6 separate regions of the Homo sapiens genome follow, and all the other regions are linked to region 1. Evidence: promoter capture Hi-C in human tissues and cell types (Jung and others, 2019). All regions are on one chromosome and are shown on one strand. Each heading gives the region's core, a stretch centred on a gene start or on the middle of the fragment in contact. The rest is flanking DNA. Distances are from core to core; before and after follow the strand shown.

What was found. Contacts are between HindIII fragments. The study calls those that stand out against the background at their distance.
Region 2: a contact is called between the fragment with the promoter of ZNF721 here and the fragment with the promoter of UVSSA in region 1, in 1 of the 25 tissues and cell types used here (lymphoblastoid cells).
Region 3: a fragment that was not itself captured here is called in contact with the fragment with the promoter of UVSSA in region 1 in 1 of the 25 tissues and cell types used here (lymphoblastoid cells).
Region 4: a contact is called between the fragment with the promoter of PCGF3 here and the fragment with the promoter of UVSSA in region 1, in 1 of the 25 tissues and cell types used here (lymphoblastoid cells).
Region 5: a fragment that was not itself captured here is called in contact with the fragment with the promoter of UVSSA in region 1 in 1 of the 25 tissues and cell types used here (bladder).
Region 6: a contact is called between a fragment that was not itself captured here and the fragment with the promoter of UVSSA in region 1, in 1 of the 25 tissues and cell types used here (IMR-90 fibroblasts).

What each region holds. Positions count from the first base shown.
Region 1 is chr4:1,344,450-1,349,197 of GRCh38, reverse strand. UVSSA (UV stimulated scaffold protein A) reads right to left here and starts at 1,990. Exons shown (of 14, transcript NM_020894.4): 1 at 1,438-1,990; 2 at 1,009-1,108. The coding sequence starts at 1,106. RefSeq lists enhancers at 1,302-1,381, 3,227-3,749, 3,750-4,273 and silencers at 1,612-2,051, 2,292-2,621, 2,842-2,931. The HindIII fragment of the contact is 13,201 bases long and covers 1-4,748 here.
Region 2 is chr4:496,808-501,555 of GRCh38, reverse strand. ZNF721 (zinc finger protein 721) reads left to right here and starts at 2,400. Exons shown (of 3, transcript NM_133474.4): 1 at 2,400-2,500. PIGG (phosphatidylinositol glycan anchor biosynthesis class G (EMM blood group)) reads right to left here and starts at 2,346. Exons shown (of 13, transcript NM_001127178.3): 1 at 2,067-2,346; 2 at 955-1,160. The coding sequence starts at 2,220. RefSeq lists enhancers at 1,385-2,248, 2,206-2,685, 2,249-3,114. The HindIII fragment of the contact is 23,753 bases long and covers 1-4,748 here.
Region 3 is chr4:2,006,936-2,011,683 of GRCh38, reverse strand. NELFA (negative elongation factor complex member A) reads left to right here and starts at 2,710. Exons shown (of 11, transcript NM_005663.5): 1 at 2,710-2,934. The coding sequence starts at 2,725. It overlaps LOC124900839, which reads left to right. Exons shown (of 4, transcript XM_047416543.1): 4 at 1,511-2,678. The coding sequence starts at 1,923. The coding sequence ends at 2,678. RefSeq lists a silencer at 1,960-2,339 and enhancers at 2,400-2,919, 2,527-3,027. The HindIII fragment of the contact is 4,627 bases long and covers 73-4,699 here.
Region 4 is chr4:703,839-708,586 of GRCh38, reverse strand. It overlaps PCGF3 (polycomb group ring finger 3), which reads right to left and starts at 2,755. Exons shown (of 11, transcript NM_006315.7): 1 at 2,617-2,755. RefSeq lists enhancers at 997-1,981, 1,982-2,967, 4,008-4,735 and a silencer at 2,333-3,032. The HindIII fragment of the contact is 34,476 bases long and covers 1-4,748 here.
Region 5 is chr4:1,916,475-1,921,222 of GRCh38, reverse strand. NSD2 (nuclear receptor binding SET domain protein 2) reads right to left here. Exons shown (of 22, transcript NM_001042424.3): 4 at 4,186-4,352; 5 at 2,600-3,082. Among named protein-coding and RNA genes, the nearest start is that of NSD2, 47 kb to the right of the region's middle. The HindIII fragment of the contact is 3,023 bases long and covers 1,010-4,032 here.
Region 6 is chr4:769,896-774,643 of GRCh38, reverse strand. All of the region lies in intron 1 of LOC124900163 (chloride intracellular channel protein 6-like), which reads left to right. All of the region lies in intron 1 of PCGF3-AS1 (PCGF3 antisense RNA 1), which reads left to right. It overlaps PCGF3 (polycomb group ring finger 3), which reads right to left. Exons shown (of 11, transcript NM_006315.7): 11 at 4,555-4,748. Among named protein-coding and RNA genes, the nearest start is that of PCGF3-AS1, 9.6 kb to the left of the region's middle. The HindIII fragment of the contact is 4,145 bases long and covers 445-4,589 here.

The sequences.
Region 1 (4,748 bases), core at 741-3,240:
CTACATCATCTACAGCTGTGTTCACAACTGAGGCATTACAGCAAAGCCTGAAACACAAACCATCTGGCTCTTTAAACACACGTTACCTAGCGCAACACACACCGCCCGGCACAAACGCCCACCGCCCGGCACAAACGCCAACCGCCCGGCACAAACACACACCGCCTGGCACAAACCGCACACCGCCCGGCACAACGCACACCGCCCGGCACAAACACACACCGCCTGGCACAACGCACACCGCCCAGCACGCACACTGTTTCAGCTGGGTGCCTCCTGCTGCAGGAAGGAAGGAAGGCCTAGAGCTCGGGACATCTCCCAGCCCCTCCTGAATGCTCCTATTCCCAGCTCCTGACCCCACATAAACCATTGCGAATTCGATTTCCTGGCGCAGGCCACAAAACCTGACCTGAAATTTTCTATCAAAATGTCAACACTCCATCACTGTATAAACAATCTATAAACTGCCATTTTACAAACACAGGATACAGAATAATCAGTGTCCTCGACTTATGCTCCACCCTCCGAGGGGAAGTTTTGCTTCCCCCATGAATCTCTGGCTGCCTGAGGGTGACGGCAGAGATCCCCTCCGGCGTTTTCCTTGGAGGAAGTGAACAGAGGTGGACATACCCTAAAGGCGATGGACCAACTCGCCCATCAGCAAGCTCTATTCTTTCCCTTCGAAAAGTCCAGCAGCAAAGAAAAAGATGCACGTTTCTCTCTGAATCACATTTGTGCACTCAAGAACTCCTACAGGATGTGCTCCAGACCACACAAATGGGAATGAAGAGAAGCACCAACCACAGAGCAGTGGGGTCCCCAACGCCACACGCCCCGACCCCAGAACATGACCACCCGTCAGAGCCGGGTACTGCAGGGCCCCGAGAAAATGTCCTGGGTGTGTCCCTCGGGTGGTTCTCTCCCAGGTGGGGGCAGGAGGGCAGGGCCCTGTGTGTGTCCTGGGCTCAGTGGGCCAGTCAGTTACTGTTACTGAACCCTAAGACATACTTGCAAATTTTCTTCAGTTCCTTCATTTTCTCAGGATTTAGTCGGGGTTCTCCTGAAGTTGTGAGCTCTTCTACCAACTTCGAAAGTTTCTGATCCATATCTAGAAATAAGTAAGGCAGAGATGCTATATCACCATCTGTATTTTATAGCTCTCGGTGTTATTAACGTGTTTACTGGGTTCCACTATAAACCGAAAGCTCCGGGAGGACCCTGAGGCTGGGGTCCATCTGTGGGTGCCTCTCTGGGAAATATGTGTGTCCAGCAAGGCCTTTACGGCGGTGATTGCAGTTTTAAAAGTGAACCTTAAACTCGGGACCTCTACAATCCCGTGTGTGGGACGCTGCATTGAGGGTCGTGCGTTAAAGGAACCAGTGGCGCTGTCCGAATCAGCTTTTCCCCAACGTGACTGTTGCTGTTTCCCTTATTCACTCAGATTCCGCAGGGCAGCCTCCAGCAAGGCTGCAGAGGCCAAGAGGAGCCAAGAAATTCTGAGACCAATGAAAAGTCGCGTCCGGAGAGCAGGGGCGGCCCTAACGGAGGCAGCCTGCCCGGATACCCAGGGCCGAGCACCGCGGCGTGCCTGGTGGGATGAGGCGAGGGCCTGCCGCACCGCCAGGGAAAGGCCGAAGGACCCGGAAGGAAGCGCCAGGCGAGGCCGGGGCGGAGGCTGGGAAGCTGCGCCCTACTCGGGGAAAGAAGGGGCCCGGCAGGGCCACGCGAGGCTTGGACCGCGGGGTCGCTCTCGCACAGCGGCTGCACCGGGCGGGCGCGCCGGCTTCGACGGTGCTCGGGGGGCTGCGGCCTGTCACTCGGCCCAGGGCCCGCCCTCCGGCCCCGCCGCCGGCGCTCTCGGGCACACGGGACACGCCCTGGCCGCAGGTCTCTGCCCGGCGCCCGCAGAGCCCCGGGGACCGAACCGGCGCGACCCCCGCCCGGCAGCGTAACCACAGCCCCACCTACCGCTGACGCGGCCGCTCGCCTCGCCCCGCCCCTTCCGGCGGGGGGACCGCCCCTCTTGTCAGGTGCCCAAGACCTCTACCGCCATTGGCTGGCCCTGGGCCGGACGCATCAGGACCTGGGGTCACCACAGCGACGACTGCACCTACCGCTCGACGCGGCCTTTCTCGCCGTTGCCCCACCCTTTCCGGTCAAGGCCCCGCCCCCTAGCACGTGCCCTGAGCTCGACAGCCAATGGCTCACCCCAGCCCAGGAGGCGCAGGCGCAAAGACGCGGCCGAGGTCTGCGCGGTGACGTAGGCGCGCTCCCGGCGAGGGCGAGGCAGGCTGCCGGGGGTGGGGAGGGGGACGCACGAGAAAAAAGAGGCGGGAGGGCGCAGAAAGTCCTTAAAGGGGCCGCATGTACGGGCGCCGGGGGCGGGGCCGGCCGGGAAACTGAGGCCGAAAGGAAGTTCCGGTCTGGGCCTCAACGCCACGCCCGCCCGCGGGCTCGCAGCCAGGTCCCTTCACCTGCAGAGGGCCGGTGAGGACCGCCCAGACGGGCGGGCGCGGGCCCCCGCCCCCGAGCTCGCCCCGCGCAGGGCGCCCTGAACCCCGCGGCGCCTCCCCGCTCCGGCCTCGGGAAGGGAATCCCTGGGCGGGCTTGGGGGTCTTCGGGGCCCACCTCGGCGCCAGACGCACAGCAGGTACCCCTGGGCCCGGGCTGGCCCTGGGCGGAATGAGAAGCAGAGGCGCCGTCCGTCCTGCCGCCGAAGTCCGCAGCCTCGAACGCAGGGGAGTGCGAGGTCGGCTGCGGACGGACGGACCTGGAGACCGCGCTTGGGAAACCGTGGCTTCGGAGGAGCGTGGTGTGGACCCCACTCGCGGGGCGCCCGGCACAGGCCACGCAGAGCAGACGCCCGACTGGGCTCCCGGGGCTGGGTGCAGGGCGGGGGCCGCCGGCGGCGGGCCGGGGTTTCTTTTTCGGGGGGATGGGCGTGCCCTTGCATTACGGTGGTGGTAGCTCACAACTCTGTTAATCGTGTTTTTACAGGGTGGGTTTCAGGATGTGTGAGTTATATCTCAGTAAAGCAATTATTTTAAAAAGGAAAAGAAGAGGGACTCCCTGCGCCGCCCCTCTCTGCAGCACCAGCTTCTGTCCCTGGGCGTCAGTGGCTCCCAGCTCCTAGCTTGCAGCCAGCCCCGAGCCGCTCCTCCGCCTCACCCCTTCCTCACCCTGCCTCTTGCTTCACTGAGCAAGCTGCAGCCAGACCCTCCCTCAGCGCCCCTTGCCCTGTGCATCCAATCCCCGGCCTGTGGCTTCCTCCAAGGCACCCATCCAGCAGTTTCCCTCTGTCTTCTACAGCGTGGTTTTTTTTGTTGTTACTAGTTCTCATTAGTATAAAAGGGTGCCGTTTCTCCCATACTAACAAAACCCTCTCTTTATCCAACTTTTCTTACCAATTGCTAAGTCCAGTCTCCTTTACACTGCCCCGGGGTGTCCTCTCAGCCCTCAGGCTCAACAGCACAGCCAAGCTGCCCGTCCACTGCCCTCTGTATCCGCTGATGGCCCTGCAGCCTTTTTTTTTTTTTTTTTTTTTTTTTTTTTTGAGACAAAGTCTCGCTTTGTCACCCAGGCTGGAGTGCAGTGGCACGATCGCGGTTCACTGCAGCCTCCGCCTCCCGGGTTCAAACGATTCTCCTGCCTCAGCCTCCCGAGTAGCTGGGATGACAGTCACCCGCCACCACGCCCAGCTCATTTTTGAATTTTTAGTAGAGACGGGGTTTCACCATGTTGGTCAGGCTGGTCTCGAACTCCTGACTTCAGGTGATCCGCCCGCCTCGGCCTCCCAAAGTGCTGGGATTACAGGCGTGAGCCACCGTGCCTGGGCCACCGTGCCTGGGCCTGCCCTGCATCCTTCTGTTCGCTTGGACCAATTATCTGACTCACTTGGGCTTCTCTCTTCCTCTCACTCCATGCCCATTTGGTTTGCAAATCCTGACAGCCCTACCTTCAGAACACATCCAGATCTGAGCACGTCCCACTGCCTCATTGCCACTGCCAATTCCTGGCCACCCCTGCAGCAGGTCACTGCCGTCACCTTGTCTTTCCCTTGCACCCTGGTACCCCTAGACCATCATGCAGCAACCAGAGGGACCTTTGAAAGTCTAAGGTCGGATCACAGGATTCCTCTACACAAAATCCTCCGACGGCTCCCATCCCAGGGCAAGGCAAAACCTGTCGTGGCCTGTGTTTGCTGCCCCCTGCATCCCACCGGTTGACTTCTCCAGCCTGCTCTTGCTGCCACACGGCCTCTGGGGAGCGGATCCCTCTGCCGGGAAGCTTCTGCCAGTATCCACAGAGTTCCTTGCCTCCTTCCAGCCACTGCTCATGTCTCACCCTGAGCAAATACTTCTGCACCCGCTCACCTCCCTGGCTCAACACCCCCCATCCGTTTTCTAAACCTGCCGTGCTTGTTCCCAGGGCACTTCTGGCCCTTGTGTCACACAGACTTACTGTCTTACTAGGTGATTCGCTTTTTTCTCTTCACTCCTAAAACATACAGTCCCTGAAAATAGGGATCTTTGTTTCATGAAGCCAGACAAAAAGCAGGTGCTCAATATTTGTTGAATGCTGGATAAGATTAGAAAGCCAAGATAAATCATGATGAGAGTTAGACGATATTCTTGTTTGTTTTTGTTTGAGACAGAGTCTTGCTCTGTCGCCCAGGCTGGAGTGCAGTGGTGTGATCTCGGCTCACTGCAACCTCTGCCTCCCAGGTTCAAATGATTCTCGTGTCTTGG
Region 2 (4,748 bases), core at 1,151-3,650, 850 kb after region 1:
AAATAATGTTTCACATGATCAACAACACAGCTAAGGCTCCGTCAGAGACTTTATGCCACGCTCACATGCGATACACTCACACACTTCAACCCCTCTGCTCCTTTCTGTCCCCACCTTTATTCATCCTTCCAGTCTCAGTTTAAATGCAATTTCCTCAGCCAGGCTTTCTCACCCACTAATCATCACATCCTGTTCTTTCTCATCATGCATTAACCACACTTTACAACTGCATGTTTTCATATGCTCCTTTGTTGAGTGGCTGTATATCTAAAGACTAAAAGCTACATGAAGGCAGAGATACTATTTTTTCCCCAATTGCATACCCATTGAAGTATCACCACATAGTCGTTGCTCAAAAGTTTTGAGCCAATCAATAAAGGCTTACTTTTTTCTTTACCCACGGTTCTTGGGAAATGCACTATGTACTTCAAAGCTGCTGTCAGTAGGCTGGACACCTGAAGGATATGGTGGAAACAGTGGTAATTGTTGAGGCCGGAACATACTGATTTGATCATTATGTATACTGGTGGATAATTTTGGAGAAGTCACATTTAACTTATCTGAGTTTGCTTTCCTATCTATAAAGTCTAGAGACTGAACTAGATTAACTCTAAAGGCTCCTTCTAAGATTGTAAATGACCCAGTGACGATTAAAGAAGAAAGCAGGTCACCAAGAATGGCATATCTTGGGGTAGGTTAGCCTGGATGATCTTGCTCTAAATCTTTTATATTTGCCATGAAGCATGAGCTTTGGCTACTTGACATGGGGCACAAATGATGGGTCTCAGTTCCATCCCGTGTGAGGCTCCTTCAACATTCTATTGCCCCAGCCAACTGACAGCACAAAATTTCCACTTTCTTAAAATTGCAACTCCAAGCGAAAGACTACAGAGACCCCCTCTAAATCTTCAAAACAGCCAAACCATGATTCATAAAACATTAAGGCAAACTTACCTTGATTCGAGGCATAGTAACTGTAGGTGGCTTTGCTTCAGCCACAAAACTGTGAGATGCTCCTTTTTCCACAAGGTAAGTTGTGTAGGGCATAAATTTCACACCCTTTGACCCAAACACAAAATCATCTCTCAAGGCATCTATCAGAACAATAACAACTTTACTGAAGAGAGGTGGTGGCAGCGTGGTCCAGTTAGAACTGGCTCCTAAGTGTTTGAAAGAAAAAAAAGGAAATTGAACTCTAAACTTTCCTTAGCATCAAGCACCTTCACAATCTAGCTTCTACCTACTTCTCCAGCACATACCCTGCGATATCTACATAACCCAACCCAAAAGGAGGCGACTTGTACTTGGTAGGTAGTGCTGGGGGGAAAGGACGGGGGTTAACAGGAGTAATCTTAGGGACCCACAGTAGCAAGCAGTGAATTATCCTCAGTATGGTGAAGAGTACTGGGGTAGGAGAATCCCTACGTAAGGGTCCTGGAATGGGACATTTAGGGAGCTTGACCTAAAACGCAGAGCTGCAGCTACGGGATGGCTGGGCGTTTACATACTGCGTTTACATGGTCAGCGGCTGGCGATGTGTGCAAGTGGTCCAGAACCAGGGCGCCTTTACTTGCTGTATATGGCTGGGTAGGTGAAGCCTAGGAAGAGGCCTAACGCAGAGAGGCCTTAGCCCCTAGGCAGGGAAAACATCTTGGAGGAATATAAGAGACCAAAACGCGAGGGGATCGGCAGGGGTCTTATCTGTTGTGTGCTAGGGGGCAAAAAGGGCGCCTATAACGGGGAGTGACCCAAAGGCTGCTCAGGAAAGGGGCGGGAGCTCTGGACGAGTAGAAGTGGAGAGGCTGGATCCCAGGTATGGACACAGCTTACTTTGTGGTGATCAGGAAGGAAGGTCGAAGTGGGGCCAGTAGAGGTGGTTGCCACAAAGTTGTAAGAATACAGAAAAGAGACGCTGGAGCGGTTAAAAAAAATTTCTGAGGTGGGGACCATAATGGAAGAGACCACCGGGGAGCGCCGAGAAGAAATCCGAGCAGCGAGGCTCAGAAAAAAGGTCTTCTAGGGGATGTGGGGTCAGGGGAGCGGAGACGCCGGGGAGGGGTCCGTACCAGCCGAGGGTTCGGGCGCTGGGGGCTCCGCTCCGTGTTCCGCTCTGGCAGAGGAACGAACGGGAGCCGGGAAGAATCCCCGAAGGAAGACCGCGATCCCTAGCACCTCGATCGCTACGCAACAGGTAGCGAAAGTCCCGGAGCCCAGCCGCATCGTGGACACGCTAGGCTGGATGCGGAACCGACCCCACCTGGAGCCTCGCCCTGCTGCAGCCGCGCTTCCGGCTCCAGGTAGCCGCCTCTAAGCAATAACGCCAGGCCTTATCGTCGCAGCGACAGTGGCGTCACGTCCGCCGGCGCGCCACAGCAGCGCGTCACTTCCGCCAGCCCGCCACAGCGGGGCGTCACCTCGGACATACGAACAGCGGGCGGTGTTCCCGGCTCCGTGGGGCCGTCTTCCCGGCGAGTCCGCGACGGTCGCCGCCCACGGCGAGGTACGAGGTTTTAAAAAGTTTTTAATTTGGAAGGCAGGGTGCAGTGGCTCACGCCTTTAATCCCAGTACTTTGGGAGGCCGAGGCGGGCGGATCACGAGGTCAGGAGATCGAGACTATCCTGGCCAACATGGTGAAACCCCGTCTCAACTAAAAATACAAAAAATTAGCGGGGCGTGATGGCGGGTGCCTGTCGTCCCAGCTACTCGGGAGGCCGAGGCAGGAGAATCGCTTGAACCTGGGAGGCGGAGGTTGCAGTGAGCCGAGATCGCGCCACTGCACTTCTGCCTGGCAACAGAGCGAGACTGCGTCTCAAAAAAAAAAAAAAAAAGAAAATTCAACCCAATACCTCAGACAACTGGTAAATATCTTAATGATTAACTTCGTTTTAAAGATGCCACATGAGTGAGATCATGAGGTATTTGTCTTTCTGTGTCTTATTTTGCTTACATGATATCCTCAGGTTTATCCGTGTTGTGGCAAATGATAGGGTTTCATTCTTTTATTAGAGCTGAATAGTACTCCATTGTGTATATATACCACATTTTCTTTTTTCTGAAAGGAAAATCTTGGGGCCCCAAAATTACTAAACTAAGGGAAAAGACAAGCTCGGAACTGCTCAGGACAAACCTGCCTCCCATTCTATTCAAAGTCATTCCTCTGCTCACTGAGATAAATGCATATTGATAGCCTCCTTTGGAGAGGCTTATCAGAAACCCAGAAACTGCAACCATTTGTCTGTCACCTACCTGTGACCTGGAAGCCCCCTCCCTGTTCCAAGTTGCCCCCGCCTTTCTGGACAGAACCAATGTCCTTCTTTTTTTTTTTTTTTTTTTTTTTTTCTTTTTCTTTTCAGATGAAATCTCACTCTGTCGCCCAGGCTGGAATGCAGTGGCGTGATCTCAGATCACTGCAACCTCTGCCTCCCGGGTTCAAGCAATTCTCCTGCCTCAGCCTCCTGAGTAGCTGGGATTACAGGTGCGTGCCACCACGCACGGCTAATTTTTGTATTTTTAGTTGAGACGGGGTTTCACCATGTTGGTCAGGCTGTTCTTGAACTCCTGACCTCGTGATCCGCCCGCCTCGGCCTCCCAGAGTGCTGGGATTTACAGGCATGAGCCACCGCGCCCGGCCTGTTTTTTTTTTGTTGGTTTGTTTTTGAGACGGAGTCTCGCTCTGTCGCCCAGCCTGGAGTGCAGTGGCACCATCTCCGCTCACTGCAAGCTCCGCCTCCCGGGTTCACGCCATTTTCCTACCGCAGCCTCCCGTGTAGCTGGGACTACAGGCGCCCGCCGCCACGCCCGTCAAATTTTTTTTTTTTTTTTGTATTTTTTAGTAGTGACGGGTTTCACCATGTTAGCCAGGATGGTCTCAATCTCCTGACCTCGTGATCCGCCCGCCTCTGTCTCCCAAAGAGCTGGGATTACAGGCGTGAGACACCGCGCCCTGTCCGGCCTGTTATTATACATATGATTGATATCTCGTGACTCCCTAAAATGAATACAACCAAGCTGTGCCCCGACCACCTTGGACCCACGTCGTCAGGATCTCCGGAGGCTGTGTCATGGGCGTCCTTAACTTTGGGAAATAAGCCTCCTGAAATGATTAAGACTTGTCATTTTTCTCGATTGACATTGATAAGCACTGAGAGATCCTCAGTGAAGGTAACCCGGCCTGCAGCAGTTCGCCTATTGATCCTCGGTATTGGCTTGGCACCTTATTGCCCAAACTGGTAGGATGATTGCTGAAATCTGGGACCTTGTTCCTCCAGGGATCCCTGATCTTCCAACGTTTTTCGGTGGGGGGTCTGAGGTTTATTTGCTGTTAAAAAACTCCTTTTTTGGGAGTTCCCACTCGCTTCATCAAGGAAGGCAAGCCTGCCTGCTTCTGCATCGACAGATAGCCGTCTTCAGCTTGAGCCCCATCACTAGGTAAGAAAATTGATTTGGAATTTTGTCTTGCAAATTCTTTTTAAATGACTAAAGATAACATTAACAACCAGCTGGTGTTTATTTCTGCTTACACTTAGAGCGTTCAGAAGTCATAGGCTGGGCGCGGTGGCTCACGCCTGTAATCCCAGCACTTTGGGAGGCCGAGGTGGGCGGATCACGAGGTCAGGAGATCGAGACCATCCTGGCTAACACGGTGAAACCCCATCTCTACTAAAAATACAAAAAATTAGCCGGGCGCGGTGGCGGGCACCTGTAGTCCCAGCTACTCAAAAGGCTGAGGCAGGAGAATGGCGTGAAC
Region 3 (4,748 bases), core at 1,137-3,636, 660 kb before region 1:
GATTTCAACACTTATTTTAGAAAGCTATAGTAACCAAGACAGTCTGGTATTGGCATAAAGATAGATGAGTAAGTCAGGATAGAAAAGTCCAGAAAGGATCGTCATTTCGACAAATAATATGGGAACAACTGGATACCATGTTTTAAAATGAAAAAAACTTTGGCTTTCTAATTTTGCAATCTGATAGGTGTAATGAGGCATCTTGTTATTTTAATTTGGGTTTGTCAGGTTGCTGATGAATTTAAGCATCTCTCCATGTGCTTCTCCGGTATTTGGGTTTCTCCTACGAATTGCTTTTTTTTTTTTTTTTTTTTTTGAGACAGAGTCTCGCTCTGTGGCCCACGCCTGAGTTCAGTGGTGTGATTTCCGCTCCCTCCAACCTCTGCCTCCTGGGTTCAAGCGATTCTCCTGCCTCAGCCTCCTGAGTAGCTGGGATGACAGGCATGAACCACCACGCCCCACTGTTTTCGTATTTTTAGTAGAAACGGGGTTTCACTATGATGGCCAGGCTGTGAATTGCCTATTCTTATCTTCTGCACATTTGTCTATTGTCGGTCTTTTTCTCGTCGATTTACAAGCATTCCTTTTTTCATTCTGAATATTAATCCATTGCTTTCTGATGCTGTAACTAAGTCCTCCTAGTGGTTTGTCTTCTTGGTTAAGCCAGATGTTAACTTGGATTTTTCCTGCATAAAACTGAAGACTCAAGATGCATCAAGCACTGTATACAGAAAAGTGCTGCGTATCCTACAGAAAGCTACAGACAGTTGGGGGTCAGAATCATTCGGATTGTTTCAAGTTTGGGGCTATTATAAATAAAGCTGCTATAAACGTTTGCACACAGGTTTCTGTGAACAAAAATTTTCATTTCAACCAACTAATGTTTACGGTTCAATCATGATTTCACAACTTGAAGTAACTTTCACTCTTCTCATACTAAATTTGATATGTCGTCCACTGTTAAACTATTTCTTACCCTCAGATTATAATTATTAAACTTTTTTTTTTTTTTTTGAGAGGGAGTTTTGCTCTTGTGGCCCAGGCTGGAGTGCAATGGCAAAATCTCGGCTCACCGCAGACTCCGCCTCCCGGGTTCAAGCCATTCTCCTGCCTCAGCCTCCCGAGTAGCTGGGCTTACAGGCAAGCCATGCGCCACCAAGCCCGGCTAGTTTTGTATTTTTAGTAGAGACGAGGTTTCTCCATGCTGGCCAGGCTGGTCTCGAACTCCCGACCTCAGGTGATCCGCCCGCCTTGGCCTCCCAAAGTGCTGGGATTACAGGCGTGAGCCACCGTGACCGGCCTAATCATTAAACTTCTTTCAGCACTAGCCCCACTGATGTCACAACTTCACCCATTAGTCAATAACTTGTCTTTGCTGAATTCGACACTTTTGAATCATTTAAAAAATATTCTCTTAAATTTTATGTGCTATTTGCAATGTAACGGTTGTCGACATGACAGTTTTAAGTTTAATCTTTATCATCAACATTTTCTCTATCACTTTCTTCAGTTTAAGCAATCAACAAAACCACCGCTCCAGCACTGATTTGTAGCATTTGCGGGTTTCCCCCGTGTGACTTCCGCAGGACTGCCAAGTTCAAGCCGCCAGGGCCAGGGCACTGCTAGCAGCTGGGCTGAGCCCTGTTCTCCCGGCGTTCCCACCGCCCAGTGGCAATAGCTGTGAACGGCGGCAGGAGCATGGCAGTGGAACAATAAGGAAAAGATCTTTTAAAAAAAAGATATAATACAGAAGCCAAGCAAGGCGGCCCCGACCTGTAACCCCAGCACTCTGGGAGGCAGAGGCGGGCGGGCGGATCGCTTGAGCCCAGGAGTTTGAGACCAGCCTGGCCAACATAGGAAGGCCTCGTCAAAAAGACAAAAGGGTAAAACGAATTTAATAAAATGAAGTTTAACTTTTACTCATGTTTGTATCTAATGACAAGCTTTTAAAACTGAAAAGTTCACTACTGGCTCCTGCCTGGCGGCTCCAGCCCGACTGGGGGCCGGGGCCTCCCTGCACTGTGGGGTCACGAGTGCCCCTGGACAGCTCCCGAGCGCCCTCCGACCCGCATGCTCAGCGCAGCCCCGTCGGCGGCGCGCCACGGGCAGAGCGGGCTCAGCGGGGGACGGAAGCTCAGCGCTGCGACCGGGATCCCGCAGGCTCGCTCCGCAGGGCCGCGGCTCCTCTCCGTGCAGGTGCTGGGCCCGCGGGGGCGGGGCGTCCACACGGTCCGCGCCGAGACCCAAGCGGGGAAAAAGCGAAGAGCGGACAGCGGGGCAGGTGCCACAGGGAGCCTCCGCCCCACCGCGCGAGCAGCAAGTCTGCGGCGCTTGACACCTGCACTGCGAATGCCAGGCCGCAGCCCGGGCTCCCAAGACGCGAATACGCGCGCCTGCTCGTGACGTCATTTTTTGCGGTCTTCCCGAGAGCCAGCAGAGGGCGCCGCCATGATGTTTTACGGAAGCCGATAGTCCTTGCTCAGCGGCACCCCGTCCTTCCGGCTCTCGGCTTTGCCACAAAGCTTCCCGAAGACGCGGCCGCTACCCGGAGACGCGGTCGCCACCCAGAAGCGCTCTCCCGGGAAGCCCCGCTCGTGGGACCGCGCCACCTGCGCCGCCTCTGCGGCCCGCAGCCCGACGGGCGCCGCCATGTTGGGGTCCTAGCGAGGGACGCGTAGGTGTCTTCATAAGATGCCGGGGCAGCGGCGCGCGCTTTCCCCCAAGATGGCGTCCATGCGGGAGAGCGACACGGGCCTGTGGCTGCACAACAAGCTGGGGGCCACGGACGAGCTGTGGGCGCCGCCCAGCATCGCGTCCCTGCTCACGGCCGCGGTCATCGACAACATCCGTCTCTGCTTCCATGGCCTCTCGTCGGCAGTGAAGCTCAAGTTGCTACTCGGGACGCTGCACCTCCCGCGCCGCACGGTGGACGAGGTAAGGCAGGCGTGGCGCCCCGCGGCCCCCAGATTCCCAACCTTCCCACCTCCGACCCGCACACCCAACTCCGGACCCTCCTCGCTCCCTCCCCCAACCTTCCCATCCCCCTTCAGACTGTTAACCCCCCCGGCCCGCCCTCACGCCCCCTCCTCGCTCCTCCGAATACCTCCCTCCAGTCCTCACCTCCCCCTGGGTCCTCATCCCCCGCCTCGATCCTCATCTCCCACCTCGGTTCTCATCCCCACCGTGGGTCTTCAGGACCCCCCGCCCCTCCTCGCCCCCTGGGAATCCCCCACTAGGGTCCTCACCTCCCTACTTTTCGTCCTCACCCCTACCCAAGTTTTCACCTCCCCTGGGATCCTCAATCTCCTCCCCGCCGGGCCCCGGGTTCTCGCTACGACCCCCAGGTCCTCACTCCCCTCCCTGGGCCCCCGGGTACTCATCCCCACCCGCCCCCGCCTCCCCCGCCTTCGGTCCTCACCACCCTAATCCCCCACCGTGCCGAAGCGACCGACTCTTGGAGCGGGGGTGCGCCGGCCCCAGCGGGGTCTCCCATCGGGGTTTCCCGTCGGGGACGCAGCCCTGGTGACCTGGGCGAGGGCGGGGATCCCGAGAGAAACCCCCGCGTGAGGAAGGGGCGGCCTGGGCTCGGTAGCTCCAGTGTCCGCTGACTGGATTTTCTTGTTCTCACCTCGCAAAGACCCCGGCCGTCCGGAGCGCTCTGTGTCCGTTTTACTCTTTTCTACACGCCGTTTTGCGTCATTCCAATAAGTGGGTGTGTGAGGTTTGTTTTCTTTTTTCCTAAACTTTATATTGTATCGCTTTCCGTGCGAAATAAACCGAGTAGTTTTGCAGACTATTGAAGCCCCATGGTTGTTTAAACGTTCCTGGCTACTGATGTATTATTAGCTATTATAGGTTGTAATTGCTTTTGATTGAGATATGACATGTATGGAAAAGTGCATTTTTGTTCAGTTTAACGAATAATAATAGCATCGCGAGCCACTCCTGTGATCCTTACACAGGTGGAGAAGTAGAACCATGCCTGTTCCTTGGAAGCCTCCCACTGGTAATCACGGCCTTCTTCCTTTCCCCTTCCTCATTTTGGAAAGGTAATCATTTCTGTGCCATCTCCCCGGTGTGAGCAATTATTTATGCACCCCTAAATGGCACAGCTTGGTTGCCGGATTTGGAGTTAGTGTGATGGTATCATAGTGTATTTTGTGTGTGGCGTGCATGTGTCTTTTTGGTCGACGCCGTGACAGTTTCATCCACGTTGCAGCTGACTGCAGTTTAATTTTCACTGCTGCGTGGTATTCCTGTCTGTGAGCACGAGGCACTTTATCCATTCTGCCACAGTGACACGCTTAGCTTTTGTGCTCTTGTAAATCATCCCGTTACTACATTACGGTCATATGTTCAGGTGTTTGGAATCTTGGATTTCTCTAGGGTATAACATCTAGGAGTGGAATTGTGAGGATCATAGGATCATGCCAAATTATTTTTCAGAGTGTTTTGTTTTTGTGTTTGTGTTTTGTTTGAGACAGGGTCTGGCGCTGTCAACCAGGCTGGAGTGCAGTGGCACCATCGTGACTCACTGCAGCCTTGACCTCCTCACCTCAGATCTTCCCATCTCAGCCTCCTGAGTAGCTGGGACTACAGGGTTTCACCATGCTGCCCAGGCTGGTCTTGAACTCCTGACCTCAAGCAATCTGCTTGCCTCAGCCTCCTGAAGGGCTGGGATTACAGGTGTGAGCCATGGCACTCGGCCTGCTGTTTGGTTTTCTGCTTTGAGAATTGTATATTCAAAT
Region 4 (4,748 bases), core at 1,506-4,005, 640 kb after region 1:
GGGCTGGGAGCTCCTGGAACCCTGAGGCCCCTGCCTCATACCTACCCCAGGTATCACCTAGGCGGTTCATGTGCAGGGGCTGTGGGGCTGGCCCAGGGTCTCATGGAAAGGGCCTCGGGTACCAGGATGCCAGATGCCTGGCCTTCACAGCAGGTGCATCCAGCTGAGTGGACTGGGCAGATTCAGGACACTGCTGGATTCCCCCCCGAGGGTCCCAGTACTCCTTACAGTCCAGTCTTGGGGCCTACATGCTCCTCAGTGACTTGTTCAGGAGTCCCAGCCCTCTGAGGACCTGTCTGGAAGTTCCAGCTCTCATCAGGTCCTCTTTGAGAGCCTAGCCTTCTTCCCAGTCCACACCAGTGTCCCGACCCTAAGTGACCCCGTTTGAGGTCCTGGTCATCTAGAAGCCTGTCCATGTCATGAGCCCTTCTCACTGTCCAGTCTCAGGGTGCCGGGCCCTGGGAGAAAACAGGGCTGTCTCAGGGTCCCGGCCCCCAGGTGAAAACAGGGCTGTCCCAGGGTCCCGGCCCCCAGGTGAAAACAGGGCTGTCCCAGGGTCCCGGCCCCCAGGGGAAAACAGGGCTGTCCCAGGGTCCCGACCCCCAGGGGAAAACAGGGCTGTCCCAGGGTCCCGGCCCCCAGGGGAAAACAGGGCTGTCCCAGGGTCCCGACCCCCAGGGGAAAACAGGGCTGTCTCAGGGTCCCGACCCCCAGGTGAAAACAGGGCTGTCCCAGGGTCCCGACCCCCAGGGGAAAACAGGGCTGTCCCAGGGTCCCGGCCCCCAGGGGAAAACAGAGCTGTCCCAGGGTCCCGGCCCCCAGGTGAAAACAGAGCTGTCTCAGGGTCCCGGCCCCCAGGTGAAAACAGAGCTGTCTCAGGGTCCCGGCCCCCAGGGGAAAACAGAGCTGTCCCAGGGTCCCGACCCCCAGGGGAAAACAGGGCTGTCCCAGGGTCCCGACCCCCAGGGGAAAACAGAGCTGTCCCAGAGTCCCGACCCCCAGGGGAAAACAGAGCTGTCCCAGGGTCCCGACCCCCAGGGGAAAACAGGGCTGTCCCAGGGTCCCGGCCCCCGGGTGAAAACAGGCTGTCCCAGGGTCCCGGCCCCCAGGGGAAAACAGGGCTGTCTCAGGGTCCCGGGGGAGACGGGGCAGTCTCAGGGTCCCAGCAGTGCTCACAGGACTCACAAGACTGCTCCAGGGTCAGGTCCTCCTGAATTATGGTCATGGGGTCCTGGCCCTCGTCTGTGACCCACTTTAAGGCAGGACCTTCCTGGGGGATCTATTCTGGGGTCCTGGCATTCTTTGGATTCTGCCTGGTCCCTACGTCTGGCCCTCCTCCGTGATTCTTCCCAGGGTCCTAGCCCCCCCGGGCCCTGCCAGGTGGCCAGGTCCGACCCTCCTTGGTGACCCATCTTGGGGTCCCAGCCCTTCTCGGTGACCTGTCCCAGGGTCAGACCCTCCTGGATGATGTGTCATTGTGTCCTAGCACTCTGGGGGTCCTGTGCAATCCCAGAGCCCAACTCTCTTCAGGTCCTGCCTGGTCTGAAGACCCAGCCCTCCCGGGGTCCTGCCTGGGCTGGGGTCGCGACCTTCCCAGGGTCCTGCCTGGGCTGGGGTCCCTACCCTCCCGCGGTCCTGCCTGGGCTGGGGTCTTTGCCCTCACCTGGGTCCTGCCTGGTCTGGGGTCTTCGCCCTCCCTGGGTCCTGCCTGGGCTGGGGTCGCGACCTTCCCAGGGTCCTGCCTGGTCTGGGGTCCCTGCCCTCCCGCGGTCCTGCCTGGGCTGGGGTCTTCGCCCTCACCTGGGTCCTGCCTGGTCTGGGGTCTTCGCCCTCCCTGGGTCCTGCCTGGGCTGGGGTCGCGACCTTCCCAGGGTCCTGCCTGGTCTGGGGTCCCTGCCCTCCCGCGGTCCTGCCTGGGCTGGGGTCTTCGCCCTCCCTGGGTCCTGCCTGGTCTGGGGTCTTGGCCCTCCCGGGGTCCTGCCTGGTCTGGGGTCCCTGCCCTCCCGCGGTCCTGCCTGGGCTGGGGTCTTCGCCCTCCCTGGGTCCTGCCTGGTCTGGGGTCTTGGCCCTCCCGGGGTCCTGCCTGGTCTGGGGTCTTGGCCCTCCCTGTTCTGGGGTCTTTGCCCTCCCTGGGTCCTGCCTGGGCTGGGGTCTTCGACCTCCCGGAGTCCTGCCTGGGCTGGGGTCTTGCCCTCCCTGCGTCCTGCCTGGACTGGGGTCTTGCCCTCCCTGCGTCCTGCCTGGGCTGCTGTCCCAGCCCTCCCTGGGTCCTGCCTGGGCTGGGGTCTTCGACCTCCCGGAGTCCTGCCTGGGCTGGGGTCTTGCCCTCCCTGCGTCCTGCCTAGGCTGGAGTCCCAGCCCTCCCGGGGTCCTGCCTGGGCTGGGCTCTTGGCCCTCCCGGAGTCCTGCCTGGGCTGGGGTCTTCGACCTCCCGGAGTCCTGACTGGGCTGGGGTGCCGGCCCTCCCGGGCCTGCCAAGGGCTTCCCGGGCCAGGCCGACGGGGACGACGGAGCGCGGGCCCGGGGTTCGGAGCCTTCCGGGCCGGACACGGGCCGAGGCCGCAGCCTGAGGAGCGGGCGCCGAGGGCCCAGGCCAGGCGGGGCGGACTCACTGACCTGCGGTCTCGGGGCTGCGGGCGAGCAAGGCGCACGCGGGGTCCGCGCCGGAGGGGGGAGGGGGCGCCGCTCCCTCTGGGTCCCCCCCAAGAGGAGGAGAAAAAAGCCCGTCCGGAGTTTAAAACAAAGAGGCGGAAATGCCCGAGCCGAGCCGAGCGCCGCGTCGGGGGCGCCGCGCTCGGAGCATGCGCGGTGTGCGTCTGGGCTCCCACCCCGCGGCAAGGGGCGTGGGCGGGGCCAGGCGGTAAGGGGTGGGGATAGGGGCGGGGAGGGGCGTGTTCAGAGGGCGCAGGCGCGTCGGGCCTGGACTCGGCGGAGGGAGCCGCGGGGCGCGAGGGCCAGGGGCGAGGCATAGGGCGGGGCCATGAGGGGCGTGGTCAGGAGAGCGACAGGGCCGCGCTGTGCTGAGGGACCCGACGGGTCCTGGACGATCGTGAGCTGGGGCGCTGGAGCAGCAGAGTCCTCAGGCCCGGGTCCCTCCGGGGGTGCCGTCCAGTACGGGTGCTGCTGTCCTTTGTGGGAGCCGGGACTGAGCGCCCTCCCGGCAGGGTTAAGGGTCGGTGTTAGGGTCAGGGGTCGGGTTAGGGGTCAGAGTCAGGGTTAGGGTTGGGTTTAGGTTTAGGGTCAGGGTTAGGGGTTAGAGTCAGGGTTAGGACTGGGTTTAGGGCTAGGGTCAGCATTAGGGGTTAGGGTTAGGGTTGGGTTTATGGTTAGGGTCAGGATTAGGGGTGGGGTCAGGGTCAGGGGTTAGGGTCTGGTCTAGGGTTAGGGTTGGGTTTAGGGTTAGGGTCAGGGTTAGGGTTAGGGTTGGGTTTTAGGGTTAGGGTCAGGGTTAGGGTTAGAGTCAGGGTTAGGACTGGATTTAGGGTTAGGGTCAGCATTAGGGGTTAGGGTTAGGGTTGGTTTTACGGTTAGGGTCAGGATTAGGGGTAGGGTCAGAGTTAGGGGTTAGGTTTAGGGTTAGGGTTGGGTTTAGGGTTAGGGTCAGGATTAGGGGTGGGGTCAGGGTCAGGGGTTCGGGTCTGGTCATGTTTAGGCTTGTATTTAGGTTATGTTCAGCATCAGGACGGACAGGGCACCCACGTGCGGACTCTCCGACCTGGGTGCCCTCCGCCAGGGTGGAGCAGTACGGGCGGCATTTGCGCCTTCGTGGGACTGGCACTGTCCTGAGAGGGCGGGATCCGAGGACCGAGGGCGCGTGCGGGGGTGAGGCGGACGTGCAGGCACGCGGGGTCCTAGGGTCTCCCGGTTTGCGGGTTCTGGGCTGGCGGCCCAGGACGGGAGGGCAGGTTGGGTCTTGGGTGGGAAGCGAGACCACTGTGGTTCCGGGCGGCGGGGCACCGCGCAGTGTGGAGGCTTGGTGGCGAGAGGGGAGGCCCCGTAGGCCCAGGGGCACTCGCTGCGAGGCTGTGCGGTGCAGGCATGGAGCAGGAGTCGGGAGTCATTAGCTCGTCCCGTCTGGAGAGGTGGTGGCTGAGGGAGTGACCCTGCGACTGTCCCCGTGAAGTCTAGAGTTGGACCCCGGGAGCAGCCACCAGGCAGGGGGCCCCGGGCCCAGGTATGGTGCAGCACGTGGGGAAGCGGCTTGAGTCCGCTGCTGAGAGGGGCCTGAGAAGGGCTGGGGGCCTGCTGAGATCTCCAGCACTGGGTGGACACGTTATCCGGGTGGGAGGAGGACAGACAGCAGACATGTGAATGTGTACAGCATTCCCAGGCATGCTGCTGTGAAGGGGAGGGACTAAATGTGGCCACTGCTGCCCCCGGGGGAGGGGAGGCAGGGAGGGCTCCGTGGAGCCATGGGGTGGCCCAGTGCAGGGGAGGGGCCCACTGGAGAGGGCTGCCTGGGATTGGGGTACTGGGGTGCTGGCCCTCCACAAGAGCCCTGACTGCAGTTTTCAGTTGGTGGAGGCAGGCCCCAGATGTGGAGGGGAGGACTGGAGGATCATCCCAGAAGGAGGGCAGGGGCAAGGTATTGGTGCTGGGGTGCAAGGGGCAGGGGGTGGCCAGCAGGCCAGGAACAGTCCTGGGCTGAGTGTGGTGGCCTCAGGAAGAGGCAGAGTGGTAAGCTGCAGTTCAGAACTCACTCCAGGCCCCAGGCCCCTCCTCAAGGAGGTGCAGACCCTACCCCTAGG
Region 5 (4,748 bases), core at 1,272-3,771, 570 kb before region 1:
GCCTCCCCAAGTGCTGGGATTACAGGTGTGAGCCACCATGCCTGGCCTAAGGAGAATGCTTCTAAAGTTTCATGTGTAATATCCTTGATGAAAGCTTCTGATACATATCCTTAAACAGATTTAGGAAGTTCCCTTTTATTCCTGGTTTACTAACCTTTTATCAATAAGCAATAATTTTTTTGTTTAAGACAGGGTCTCACTCTGTGGCCCAGACTAGAGTGCAATGGCATGATCATGGTTCACCACAGCCTTAAACTTCTGGACTCGAGCAATCCTCTTGCCTCAACCTCCTGAGTAGTTGAGACTACAGGCACATGCCATCACATCTGGCTAATTAAAAAAAATTTTTTTTTTTTTAGAGACAGGGTTTCATGTTGCCCAGGCTGGTCTCAAACTCATGGGCTCAAGCAATCCTCCTGCCTCACCCTCCCAAAGTGCTGGGATGACAGGTGTGAGCTGCCACACTCGGCCTTTCTTTTCTTTTTATGAGACAGAGTCTCACTCTGTCACCTAAGCTGGAAAGCTGTGGCACAATCACAGCTCACTGCAACCTCAACACTCCTGGGCTCAAGCAATCCTCCCACCTCAACCTCCCAAGGAGAAAAAGCAATGAACTTTAATGCACGTACCAAATATCACATATACCCCATAAATACAGGGTGTTTACTTAATTAAAAAAAGCAATGAATTTTATCAAATGCCTTTTCTCCCTCTATGGAGATGAGCATTACACAGTAAGTCACAATAATAGCTTTCTAACATCAAATCACCCTTGCATTCCTGAGAAAAGCCCTAAGGATTACCCAGGCTGGAGTGCAGCGGCATGATTTCAGCTCACTGTGGCCTCCCGGTTCAAGTGATTCTCCTGCCTCAGCCTCCTGAGTAGCTGGGATTACAAGCGCACACCACCATGCCCAGCTAATTCTTGTATTTTTAGTAGAGACAAGGTTTCACCATGTAGGCCAGACTAGCCTCAAACTCCTAACCTCAGGTGATCTGCCCACCTTAGCCTCCCAATGTGCTGAGATTACAGGCGGGAGCCACCACGCCCAGCCACTCTTGAAGGCATCACTCAAATGCCTTTCTCTGGCAGAATTTCCAGATCCCATATAGGGACAAAAAAATCATGTCCAGTAGATTTATTAGAATACTCACAGTCACCCATTTATGCATCTCTGCCTGAACTACTCATGGCTCCTTATTGTGCCACACTGCCTGCCACAAAATACATGCTGGTTAAAGATTCATGGAAAATTTTTTGAAGACAGACTTTTTTTCCTTTTTTTTTGAGACGGCGTCTCATTCTGTCGCCAGGCTGGAGTGCAGTGGTGTAATCTTGGCTCACTGCAACCTCCGACTCCCTGGTTCAAGCAATTTTCCTGCCTCAGCCTCCTGAGAAGCTGGGATTACAAGCACGCGTCACCATGCCCAGCTAATTTTTTTTTGTATTTTTAGTAGAGACGGGGTTTCATCATGTTGGCCAGGATAGTCTCAAATTCCTGACCTCATGATCCACCCGCCTCAGCTTCCCAAAGTGTTGGGATTACAGGTGTGAGCCACTGTGCCTGGCCAACACTATTGTTTTTGATACCTTTAATCACCACATAGATTTAGACTACTGAATGGAAAATTCCTATGGAAGTAAAATTAAAATGAACACTTAAAAAAAGCCTTTTAAGCATGAGAATATGATCCACTCCAAGTAACATAACCAAAAGTGGGAAGTGGGGAACCCAACTCCTTCAGTTCTTTACAGCCTTTATTATGTACTAACAGACTGTGCATTTTATGCAAACAATTAAGAAAATTATATAAATGTCTTAATCACATTGCTACCCTTTTAAATGTCAGGGAAATAAATCAACACCCTCAGTGCCAGTGGACACAATGAGCTTTACAGATGAGCATATCCTGCACTGGAAGCTTCAGAACAGACTGCTGGAGAAAGTGCTAACCTGGAGTCACACGTTAAGGACATGACCACACGCTTCAAGCAAAGCGCAGCCTGTTGAGACCCACTTCCCTCTGTGCTAGTTTTTTTTTTTTTTTTTTTTTGAGACACAGTCTCGCTCTGCTGTCACCCAGGCTACGGTGCAGTGATGCCATCACGACTCACTGCAAACCCCACCTTCAGGACTCAAGGGATCCTCCTGCCTCCAGGACTCAAGGGATCCTCCTGTCTCAGTCTCCCAAGCAGCTGGGACTACAGGCATGTGCCACCACACCCGGCTAATTTTTGTAGAGATGGGGTTTCACCATGTTGCCCAGGCTGGTCTCAAACTCCTGAGCTGAAGCAATCCTCCCGCCTTGGCCTCCCAAAGTACTGAAATTACAGGCATGAGCCACTGTGCCTGGCCTGTTCTCGGTATCTTCTTATCCACATTAGGAAGGATATTTTAAGACCCCAGAGTGCAAGTCGAGTATCTTTTCCCTCAAGGGTCAGAATGGCTGTTCCCTAATACTTATTTATTAGATCTAAAATCTATGCAAGGCTCATGTTAGAGTCTCCTGATAATGCTGAGAAACAGATGATTCTGCACTGAAGGGATGTTCCTCAAATTCTGAAACTTGCTAGCATGAAACACAACTTAGTACTGACCTCATCCCTGTGTTTTTGACAGAAGACCAAAAACTGGGATGCTGCATCTCCCTTCCTGCTTCGTGGCATGGAGACTGTGGTCTTCTTCCTCCCAGGAGGAGACCCTACTCCTCTTCTGGGGTCAGCCTCTGCCGTCTTTTGAGGAGTACTCTTCCCTATGTCGGGGTGACTCTCCAGGGTCTCTGCAGAGCTACACAGTTTGGCCCTCCGCCTTCTCTTCATGGGAATGCACTCTTCTCTCACAGACTTGGGGTTTTCAGCAGCTTCTTCACTGACTCCTGAGGATTCTGCCATTTCTCCCAAAGACTCTGCAGCAATGCCAGCCTCCTTGGCTACTTGAGGGTTGAGATGAAGCTGGTCCCCCACATAGAGAAAGGTGAACTTGGCTTTCCGCTCCTCCACTGACATGCTTGCAGCTTCTTCTGCTTGAACAATGCCCATTTCCCACTGGGCCCTCAATTTCCCTGAAATTGGTTTCAATAGCTGGGAAAAAAAAAAGAGACACTGTAAGTTTCACTACACAAACATAAAAGTTAACTACTTTTCCTAGGCACATGATTCATGCCTATAATTCCAGCACTTATGGGTGTCAAGGCAGATGGATCACTTGAGGCCAGGAGTTTAAGACCAGCCTGGTCAACATGGCAAAACCCCATCTCTACTAAAATACAAAAGATAAGCCAGGCATGGTAGTGCATGCCTGTGGTCCCAGCTACTAGGGAGGCTGAGACATGAGAATCACTTGAACTGGGAGGCAGCGGATGCAGTAACCCGAGACCACGCCACTGCACTCTAGCCTGGGGTGACAGAGCAAGACCCTGTCTCAAAAAAAAAAAAAAAAAAAAGAATACTTTTACATTTTCACATAATTTTAGAAATAAAAAACTTGGCCAGCGTGGTGGTTCCCACCTGTAATCCCAGCACCTGTGGAGGCTGAGGCAGACACATCACCTGAGGTCAGGAGTCCAAGACCAGTCTGGCCAACCTGGTGAAACCCTGTCTCCACTAAAAATACAAAAATTAGCCAGGCGTGGTGGCAGGCACCTGTAATTCCAGCTACTTGGGAGGCTGAGGCAGGAGAATCGCTTGAACCCGGAGGGGCAGAGGATGCAATGAGCCAAGATCATGCCATTACACTCCAGCCTGGGCGACAAGAGTGAAACTCCATCTCAAAAAAATTTTAAAAAATAATAGAAATAAAAACTTTTAAAAACCAATTTTAGAATTCAGCCCAACATAATACCTTTATTGTTTCTTTAAACCAGAAATCAATTCCTATCACATTACATTAATCCCTCTGTCTGTGTGTGTGTATACACATATATACGTACATATATGTGTATATATAAATTCTAAAACAAGTTATCTCTGAGAGTCATCAAATGAGCAAAAAAAAATCAGTTGTGTCTCTAAAAGAACTTTATCATATTGTAACATGGCATCCTTGGGCAAAAGTCAACAATGAAAGAGATTGTTAAGCCATTACAATATTTCGAGCAAGTATAAGTTCAAAACAAAAATAAGTTAACTTAAAGAATAAAAATTAAATTTCTGGTCTAAAAGTAGACTGAAGGGTCATCTATCACCTTAATTTTCTCAGCTTTCGTGGGTGCCTGCTTGGCACTTTCCTGGCATAATTTTTCAAACTGTCCTTCTCCTTCAAAAGCTACGAGGCTCTTCTCAAATATCCAAGCTCTTTCTGGGGCGTCACCAAAGAACTGTACGTGATACTGGCGTGCACTCTTTTTCTGACCTAGTTTTTAAAATAAAATGTTAGAGAATGAAAGTTAGAATCTGGGATGAAACTAGTCAAATCTACTGCTATTTTGCAGTTGTTTCCCTTGGTGTTGTCTGAGCCTGTTAACCTCAAAACAAATTCTATACTTCTTATCCCTTCCATGCCACATGCCAAAGAGGGAAACTAATTAACTTACAAGAGACTCAGATAAGGTTCAAAATTGAATGGGAAAGAAAGCCAACCAGGCCAGGCGCAGTCCCTCACGCCTGTAATCCCACCACTTTGGGAGGCCGAGGCAGGGAGATTGAGCTCAGGATTTCGAGACCAGCCTGGGCAACATGGCAAAAGCCCATCTCTACGAAAAATGCAAAAATTAGCCGGGTGTGGTGGTGTGCACCTGTAGTCCCAGCT
Region 6 (4,748 bases), core at 1,268-3,767, 580 kb after region 1:
GTTTCGCGTCTGGAGTTATTCATTCTTCCCACTGCGTCTGTGGTCTCGATGGCTCAGGAGTGAAGCTGCAGACCTTCACGATGAGTGTTACAGCTTTTAAGGCGGCGCGTCTGGAGTTGTTCATTCTTCCCACTGGGTTCGTGGTCTCGATGGCTTCAGGAGTGAAGCTGCAGACCTTTGCGGTGTTACAGCTCATAAAGGCAGTGTGGACCCAAAGAGTGAGCAGCAGCAAGATTTATTGCAAAGAGCAAAAGAACAAAGCTTCCACAGTGTGGAAGGGGACAGGACCAGGTTGCCACTGCTGGCTCGGGCAGCCTGCTTTTATTCTCTTATCTGGCCCCACCCACATCCTGCTGATTGGTCCATTTTACAGAGAGCTGATTGGTCCATTTTACAGAGAGCTGATTGGTCCGTTTTTGACAGGGTGCTGATTGGTGCTTTTACAATTCCTGAGCTAGACACAAAAGATCTCTACGTCCCCACCAGGGTAGCTAGATACAGAGTGTCGATTGGTGCATTCACAAACCCTGAGCTAGACACAGCGTGCTGATTGGTGTGTTTACAAACCTTGAGCTAGATACAGAGTGCCGATTGGTGTATTTACAATCCCTTAGCTAGACATAAAGCTTCTCCCAAGTCCCCACCAGACTCAGGAGCCCAGCTGGCTTCACCCAGTGGATCCTGCGCTGGGGCTGCAGGTGGAGCTGCCTGCCAGTCTTGTGCTGTGCGCCTGCACTCCTCAGCCCTTGGGTGGTCGATGGGACTGGGTGCCGTGGAGCACGGGGCAGTGCTCGTCGGGGAGGCTGGGGCCACATAGGAGCCCATGGAAGGGGTGGGAGGCTCAGGCGTGGTGGGCTGCAGGTCCCGAGCCCTGCCCTGCCCTGCAGGGAGGCAGCTAAGGCCCAGCGAGAAATTGAGCACAGCAGCTGCTGGCCCAGGTGCTAAGCCCCTCACTGCCCGGGGCCAGCAGAGCCGGTCGGCTGGCCGCTCTGAGTGCAGGGCCTGCCGAGCCCACGCCCACCCGGAACTCTTGCTGGCCTGCAAGCCTGCCCACATCCCTGGTTCCCACCCGCGTCTGTCTCTCCATCCACACCTCCCTGCAAGCTGAGGGAGCCGGCTCTGGCCTTGGCCAGCCCAGAAAGGGGCTCCCACAGTGCAGCGGCGGGCTGAAGGGCTCCTCAAGGGCAGCCAGAGTGGGTGCCAAGGCCAAGGAGGTGCCGAGAGCAAGCGAGGGCTGAGAGGGCTGCCAGCACACTGTCACCTCTCACTACCAGACCCGAGCAGAGCTGTGGACAACACAGTATGGGAATTAAGCAGGTGAGATGACCAGAGTCCTCACTGGCACTAGAAGATGGCAGCCCAGGAGAAAGCTACCAGCCAGAGCGAGGCCTGCCAGAGATAGCCACATCTCCTCTCAGAGAATGGGGGTGATGAGGCCCTGCAGGCCAATCTGCCCTGTGCTGTGGGGCAGAGGAAGCTGTGGGACTGGACAACTCCAACATTCACAGTTGTGGCACCAGCTGCAGGTGAGAAATGTGAGGAGGGACCCTGCCCCCTCAACCTCTGAGGGGCCCTGGCAGACTGGGGGCTGTCGCCACCTGAGGGTTCCCAGCCTTCCTACAAGGCAGTGTGCATGGTGATGACTGAAGTCTCGGGGTAATCTCCCAGCAAGAGGTCAGGTCCTGGTTGTGCGTCCCAGGGTGTCAGTGAAATTGGCTGCTCCCCTGACCCAGGGCACCTTCATGCGTCTTCACAGCAGGACTACTGTGACCAAGGCCAGACCTTTCATCTTTCAAAAGACTTTGACTAAAAATGCTTTAAAAAAGCAACCTTCGGCTGGACGCGCTGGCTCACGCCTGTAATCCCAGCACTTTGGGAGGCCGAGGCGGGCGGATCACCAGAGGTTGGGAGTTAGAAACCAGCCCAGCCAACGTGGTGAAACCCCGTCTCTACTAAAAACAAAAATTAGCCTGGCGTGGTGGCAGGTGCCTGTAATCCAGTTACTTGGGAGGCTGAGGCAGGAGAATCGCTTGAACCCAGGAGGCAGAGGTTGCAGTGAGCCGAGATCACACCACTGCCCTCCAGTCTGGGTGACACAGTGAGACTCTGTCTACACACACACACACACACACACACACACACACAAAGAAAAAACATAGGAATAAATGTAGTGGTCAAATGGTTGTTTGTCCAACGTCGACAGGAGTCTTATCCCTTGAGCAGGCCACACCTTCCCCAGGAATTGGCGTGGGCAGACACTCTGGGGTGGGCGGGGTGGGCCCAGGGGAGCATCTCCTTCCTCACAATTGGAGCATAAGCCACCAAAAAAAATGAAACAAATGTGCTTTGTGTACTTTCCTTGACTGAGGAGTAATGTGGGTAAGAGAAAGGACTCTTTGCTTATTTATGGATTTAGGACTCTGTGCTGATTTATGTAAGCACAGTTGCATTTCTGTGTAAGCGGAAGACAGATAATTCTTTCTATTAAAGGGGACGTTCAGTGTAGCTACTGCAGAGCACCGTCAGGACACAGGCCTCCCAACCAATGCAGGCTCAGCCCTCCACAGCCCCTCAGGAGGGACTCAGTGCATCTCAAGGGAGTTTTATCCTTAAAAACTAGAAGCCATATGGACATCTACTTTGGGAGGATTTGGTGGGCCTCAGGGGCCTCTAGCAGCAGAAGGCCCTGGCTTCCTGAACGCAGACGGTGCGGGTCTCATCACAGCAAACCCCCTTGTTTTTCTGTTCCTCTGCTGCCTTTCAGGGGACACTGTTTGGCTTTCACCCGGTCACAGGTGTACTAACACACATGACTAACACAGGATTTTTGTCTTATGCACACAGAACTGCATGGGAGAAACAAAACCACCAGCGAGCAGAGAGGCCGAGGCTTGGCTCTGCTGTGAGAGCGTCAAGGTCCCTGCAGCCCTGAGCTGCTGCAGAACCCACAGGAACCAACTTCCAGAGCTTGTTTCTGGGGTCCTGGTGCAGGGACCCCACCCACTGTGCTCAGATGGAGCTTGAAGCTCTCAGACCTCAGGCTCCCGTGGCTGCTATCACCAGGCTTCATGGCCCAGTCCCCAAAGTGGGTGGACCCAATTTTGAGGACTTGTGTTTCCCCTACTCCCTGCAGTTGACGCTGACATCAGTGTCTGCTTGTGGTTTCAGCCAGTATCTTGACATTTCTAAGATGGACAGATGGACTGGCCGAAAATAAGTAAAATACACTTTGAGTCAGTGAAGTCTTTTTTTTTTTTTTTTTTTTTTTTTGAGATGGAGTCTCGCTCTGTCGCCCAGGCTGGAGTGCAGTGGTGCGATCTCGGCTCACTGCAACCTCTGCCTCCCGGGTTCAAGTGATTCTCCTGCCTCAGTCTCCTGAGTAGCTGGGACTACAGGTGCGTGCCATCAGGCCTGGCTAATTTTCGTATTTTTAGTAGACATGGGGTTTCACCATGCTGGCCAGGATGGTCTCGATCTCTTGACCTTGTGATCCACCCGCCTCAGCTTCCAAAGTGCTGGGATTACAGGCATGAACCACTGCACCCCGCCAAGTCCTTTTTTTTTTTTTTTTTTTTTTTTTTTTAAATTGAGATGGAGTCTTGCTCTGTAGCACAGGCTGGAGTACAGTGGCGTGATCTCGGCTCACTGCAACCTCTGCCTCTTGTGTTCCAGCGATTCGCCTGCTTCAGCCTCCTGAGTAGCTGGGACTACAGGCCCCTGCCACCACACCCGGCTAATTTTTATATTTTTTAGTAGAGACGGGATTTCACCATGTTAGCCAGGCTGGTCTCGAACTCCCGACTTCAGATGATCAGCCTGCCTTGGCCTCCTACGGTGCTGGAATTACAGGTGTGAGCCACTATGCCCAGCCTAAGTCAATTAAGTCAAGTCTAAGACTGAACCTATTTTTAAAGTTTACTGCTTTAGGTTGTGAGAATATAATTTTGGCCATTCTCCTTTCCTTCCAATTCTGGTTCTCTTAAGAGTTTCAGAATTGTTGTATTTTACTTAACCTTTAAAAACTGAAATTTTGGCCATAGTGCTTTTTTTGGGGAGGGGCAGCAAATTGTCGTAGGGAGATGGAACATTCATTTGTCAGTTGACACACCTATGGGAATCAGTAAGTTCTTTTTTAGCCGTATTTTCCTTGGCATAACCAGCTCCAAACTGCAGCAACCTCTTTCTGCAAGGAGACAAACTGAGCTTTACAAAGTTTGTGGCCTAAACTCTGGTAGCAAATGCTGGACCAATTTAAATGAGGGTTTGCAAGCAGGGTGACAGTTTACAAATGCCGCCTGAAGCAAATCGAGACATTGGTTAACCTGGGAGTGGGGAGGGCTGGGGTGAGGAAGGGAGCCGTGGGCTGGTGTGTGGACATATGTGCAGGCATGTGGTCTGAGCGTACACATATGTAGCATGCATGTGTGTGTGTGCGGCCAGGCTGCCTGAGTGGTCCATCCAATACCCACAGCATTGCTCATCCCATGAGCAAGTCATCTCTCATGCTCATACAAATGATTTATGTAATACATTTCCAGCCAGAAACACTTTCACTTAAGCTTTTCTTTTGCTTTTATTACAAGCATATAATATTAATTGGCAAAACACTGAATACAAGCTTCACTATCATAAAATCAAAACATTTAAGCAATATTCCAAAAAAGATTTGACAAAAACTAGCCACCAAGAGTACAAAAATTACACACCAACACAAAGCATAAAAAATGTAAACTTTCAAATTAAACAGT